Linked DNA regions of Homo sapiens: region 2 is linked to region 1. Evidence: promoter capture Hi-C in 16 types of primary human blood cells and fetal thymus (Javierre and others, 2016). All regions are on one chromosome and are shown on one strand. The core of a region is centred on a gene start or on the middle of the fragment in contact, and the rest is flanking DNA. Distances in the headings are between cores, read along the strand shown.

Evidence for each region. Contacts are between HindIII fragments. The CHiCAGO score rates a contact against its expected background, and 5 or more counts as called.
Region 2: a contact is called between a fragment that was not itself captured here and the fragment with the promoter of CDK19 in region 1, in 1 of 17 cell types (naive CD4 T cells). The highest score is 5.6, in naive CD4 T cells.

Annotation. Positions count from the first base shown.
Region 1 is chr6:110,814,119-110,816,804 of GRCh38, forward strand. It overlaps CDK19 (cyclin dependent kinase 19), which reads right to left and starts at 1,351. Exons shown (of 13, transcript NM_015076.5): 1 at 891-1,351. The coding sequence starts at 1,018. It also overlaps a transcript of AMD1 not described here. RefSeq lists enhancers at 102-211, 446-998, 1,572-1,651 and a silencer at 622-931. The HindIII fragment of the contact is 5,084 bases long and covers 1-2,686 here.
Region 2 is chr6:111,478,545-111,481,230 of GRCh38, forward strand. The region is part of intron 1 of REV3L (REV3 like, DNA directed polymerase zeta catalytic subunit); the gene reads right to left. Among named protein-coding and RNA genes, the nearest start is that of REV3L, 3.3 kb to the right of the region's middle. RefSeq lists an enhancer at 98-822. The HindIII fragment of the contact is 2,284 bases long and covers 227-2,510 here.

The DNA.
Region 1 (2,686 bases), core at 101-2,600:
CAACTCCTAGGAAAACAAAGGTTCAGGCCCAGCTCTGTCACTTCGTATTCCGTTCTTGATAATATAGGTACTCCATAAGCCCCAGCCCACAGTCATCTGGCAGAGGATGGAGTGGAGGACATAATACCCAAGATACCCAAGGGGCTGCAAGGTAAAGGGTGGGTAGCAGAGAATTCAGCCAACTCTTAAGTTGCCGCTTGCGAAACGCAGCTAGCCCATCAGGTCTCCTTCGAAGGGGGAAGGTACGCAATTCAGAATGTGAGAATGAGAAACCCGGGACGCCGGGCATACAACAGGGATGGGAGGACTGCATAGAGAAGCCAACGGGCCGGCCAGCCCGAAGGGCGGAGATCGCTGCTGGGGGCGGCGGTGCCCAGCGGGTCAGAGCCGTGGGGCTGGCGAGGACCCCAGGCCGCGTTCGCCCGACAGGCTCCCCGGCGAGGTTTCAAACCGCCGCCCCCGCGAGGCGCTCAGCCGATTGGAAGTTCCACAACGACCGTCACTACCCAGGGCCGGAGCGGCAACTCCGCAGCGGAGCTCTGCCTGCCCGCTGCGTTCCCCCAAGAGACTAGACCCCACAAACTCCTCCTCCACCGCGGTCCCAACTCGAGTCCCCCCGCCGTCTCCGAGCACTCGGAGGGCGCCCCTCTGGGACGGGACCGACGCCTCGGACCGGGCTGCGCCGCGGGAGTTCGAGGTACGCGACGGGGCCGCGCGGGGGAGGCGGGCGGAACGGGCGCCCCTCGGAGTCGGTGTCCGGACGCAACCCCGCGACCCCCTCCGCCTCGCCCCTCGGGCACGGCCCGACTGGGATCCGACCCACCCATCCCGCCAGGTCGCGGGCAGGGCGAGGACCCGAGCGAGCCTACTCCTCCCGCCCCTGCTCTTACCCATCTTTCCGCCTCGCCTTGTAGACGTGACCGTAGGTGCCGCGTCCCACTTTGCACCCTTCGTACTCAAACAAATCCTCCACCCGCTCCCGCTCCGCCGCCAGCTTCGCCTTGAAATCATAATCCATTGTCTGCTTCCCCCATAGAGGCACGGGACGCGGGGGCCGCCGCCGCTCAGTCCCTCCTCCTCCTCCCCCCGCGACCGCCGCTCCACTTCTCCAACAGCCGCCTCTCGCGCGCGCGCGCGCGCCGCCCGCCGCCCGCCGCTCCGCGGTCCGCCTTCAGCAAGGGACTCCTCGGCGGCCACAGCAGCCACCTCCTCCACCTCTTCCTCCTCCTCCTCCGCGACGGCGGCGGCGGCTCCCGCAGGCACCCCCAGTCCCGCCTCCCTCCTTCATTTCCTTGTTTTGGAACCTGGTGGGCCGCGCCGTGGCTTCCTCGAGCTCATTAGCGAACTCACTGGCCCGCCCCATGGTCGCGGAGGCTCCTGGGAAATGAAGTCGCGAAGGCCTCAGCGGCCTGGGCGGTTTTGCCGGCGTAAGAAATACAGCTCCCAGGTTACCTCGGGCCACCACAGCCTCGCCCCCACAAAGCATGCGCGCCTGCGTACCAGGGCCGCCCCTCCCCCTCAGGTAGCGCACGGCTCCCGGTTCCTGTGAAGGTAGAAAGCTCGAAGTTCCAGTGTGCTTTCTGCGGTTCTCGGGGAGACACTGGAAAGAAGTGCCTTACTCTAGTGGGAAGGGGATACTTCACTGTAACTAGCCCCACGCAGAGAGTATGGAAAGCATTAAATCAGCACCTTGCTGAAGGGTTGGCTGCAGTGACTCGGGAGGCGAGGGCTGGTGAGGACAGTTGTACCGCAGCTTGTTTCTTTTCTAGGGCAGTGGGTCCGCCTATTGCCCCGCCCCCCGTCCCGCTGCTCATTGGCGGGGGCTGGAGAATGACGTCCTCGTTGGTGCGTGGGTATCCCCAGGCTTTGGCTTCTTTCCCGCTCTTGATTGGTGATTGGATGTGCTCGGTTCTTCCTGATAGGTTGATCTTTTTTCTTTACGATGCAAAAACCGTATTTCAAAAACTGAACCTTCAGCAGTTTCCTAGAGCCTGCCTTGGCCAGAGGAGAACATGCAACTTCTGAGCCCCAGCAGCCAATCATCATTTTCTTGGCGCTGTAGTCAGCTTTCTCTTAGCATATGCGGTTCCCATAACCAGGCTTTGGCCATCTGTCTAAGGACAATTAAAAGTGCCTGGAGGAAGCCGCGTTTACGATCCTTTGGGTTGAATTGTAAAGGATTTTTTATGGTCTATGCATGATGTGAGGTTCTAGAATGTTTAAGAAAGCCCCTTTAGTTAGGGTGAACGTTGATTGATTTCATTGTGTTGGGGCTCAGGACACACTACCCCAAATTATAACTGAAGGAGTCCAGAATATGCCACCCCAAAATACGCCACTCTGGCATATTGATGTCTTTTAGCAAAATAAATTAAGATCCAGCCAACACAGGAAAATGCTTCACTTATCCCACTACTGCCTAAAATAAAGAATAACTCTTCCTTTGTAAAGAGAAATTTACATTTCTAAAGGAAATTTTCGTAATTAAAGGAATCTTACCAGAAAGAGAGCTGCTGCTAGTCAACTTGTATCATCTGAGATACTTTTATCTGCATAAAAGTCAACCTTTATTCACCTTAGACATTTTTTCCTCTTATCCTCTCTTAACTTGTCTCCACCACTCCTGGAAGCCCCAAACCCCACTTTTGTTTTGAAGAGACTGGCCTTGCTGTGTTGCCCAGGCTGG
Region 2 (2,686 bases), core at 119-2,618, 660 kb after region 1:
CTATTAGAGAAACTTTTGAACCTGAGTTGTTGATACACGCTAATTTTCAAAATTATTCTTATTGCAAATTTAACTCCAATTTACCAAAAAAAAAAAAAAAGGTTATTCTGGTAGTTTCTTATATTTAATTTTATAAAATATAAACAATGAGAATATATTTATAATTGGATAAGCATCTACATAAACTTATATAGCATTTCAGAATTATCAATTCCTTATGTTGAAAAGCTTGATTTCATGGCTAACAGTATCTAGAACAATCTACCAAAATATTCACTAAGCTAGAGGAAGTGGCAGAGTTCCTTAGAGTAATCTTAAAGACAAGCAGCTCCCTCTATAGTCTGTCTGGCCTACTTTGTTTAATTCCTTGCTTTGTGGACATCCCACACTCTTCTATTTACTCCTACTCTGCATCTCAGCAGGGAAGCTCTTTGAAAGGATAGTTCTGTTTAACCTGGTGCTGAGGAAACTGTGAGAGCTGTCTAAACTCAGCATGAAGTGAGTTACATCAAGCAACTAAGCAAAAGTCGAGATGTGGAAAATGGACAGCTTCCCAAGTCCACCTCAGTCAAATCCTTAAATGAAGCCTGATGATTTCATTTGTAGTGAATCCTCTGAGTGGTCACACCTATATTCAAATCTAAATGAAAAAACATTGTCCTATACTTTATTCACAACCTTTCTTCCCTCCATTAAAACAAGTTACCAAAATGTTGTTCTAAAAGAAAAAATTAACAATTTATTCTACAAATGATACTGCTCAATTTGATTATGTCAAAATAATGTTCAAGACATTTTAAAAACTAGTTAAAAAAATGGAGAGGAAATTTGTTTTTGTTTTTTAAAAAATTCCATAACTCAGATGAAGAAACTTTAAGTGATTCCCTTAGGAATCAATATCCTCAGTTGGCAAGGGATTAAATCAGTCAGGATTTACCATTCAAATCTGAATATCCCCCCCCGCCTTTTTTTTTTTTTTTTTTAAGACAGGCTCTTGCTCTGTTGCCCAGGCTGGAGTGCAGTGGCGTGATCTTGGCTCACTGCAGCCTCAACCTTCTGGGCTGAAGCGATTCTCCTGTCTCAGCTTTCCAAATAGCTAGTACTACAGGTGCACACCACCACGCCCAGCCAATTTTGTTTGTTTGTTTGTTTGTTTTGTACAGACTATGTCGCCCAGGCTGGTCTCCAACTCCTGGGTTCAAGCGATCCTCCTGCCTCTGTCTTCCAAAGTGTTGGGATTACAGGCATGAGCCACAGCACCCAGCCCTGAATATCCCTCTTTTTAAAAATACCTTTTCAAATTTCACCAACTTAAGACATGGGAGCTTTTAAACCCAAAACACTTTATTTCTTAAATTACTCAAGATACGTCCTCAAAACACAGAACAATCAAAAGTCAACTGGACTGTTTTCTAAAGCAGAAAAATGCTTTTCAGGCAATAATAGAAAAACTAAACTAGTAAAAGGGTATTAATCCAATCAGTTCAGAATTTGTAATATAATTTTGAAACGGCCACTTCATTTGAGAAAAAATATCTTTGGTTGCTATTTTTCAGGATCTCATTTGTAAAGCAAAGTCAATTTTAAAACATTTTCTCTCCAAACCAAAGTAAAGCATTAAGGACCTCCCAAAGTAATTCTTATATATGAAAAAAGTATGTTTATGCTATTTTATGTAGCATAGGTTTATCATGTGTTACACATTTTTATTACCTTATTTTACTTGTTAGTAAAGATATAAACTATAAAGATATAATACAAACCATGTTTATATCTTTGCATTATGTTTACATCTTTACTTTCAAATAAATCTGTCTTCATTAAAAATTCTAGCATTCAGAGTTTTACTAAGTCAGACTGGCCTCTCTTTTATATTAATAATTTTCAAGTTTTATTTTATTGGACTAGTTTTCCTTGGGGAGATAATTCAAAAGCAGGTAATTCTGCAGTTTTTGATTATGTTTAATTAATATTAATCTCACTGGGAGTTTCTGACGTGCTAATAAAAATGCTGGCTTGGTTTATGAAAAGTGTAAACTCTAAATGTATGCCAATGACTTCAAATTTTTTCTTGTTGAAACAAACATTTTGTTGGAAACTGTGAACTACATGGCAAATTCAATTTGATAATCCTTAACAATTTAAAATTTGACTTTCTCTGTATCAAGTTTTATGTCTTTCAATGTACATATAAAAAGTGTTACTTTTTAATTCATTTAAAATATAAATTTCAAAGTATGTACCAAAAAAAAAACCCCAATGGGGGTTTTTAGTCTTTGGTTTTTTCGTTTTTGTTTTTTTTTTTTTTTTTAAGGTGCTGGTAATCTATTGTGGGATGTCCATGAAGGATTAAATAGGAAATAGTTAATGTGTCTTTTAAAAAATATTCAGGAAAACAACAGTATATAATATTCTTTATTTTTTAAGGAACATTTCCTCACGTAATAGAATTACATTAGCTTACAGTGAAACTCATTTATTTCCACAAACGAAACTTTCCTATACAACAAAGCTTGACTATCTCTCAGGAAAACATATTTAATGACTTGTGTGGAGGAGAAAAAATTATGTGTGGAAAAGTAACTCAAACCATACAAGCTGTAATACACAGAAATGCCACAGTATATCCTATTAGCATGTCACTTTATGATTCGGAAATTTGGCTGAACAGGGCCATATCAACTTC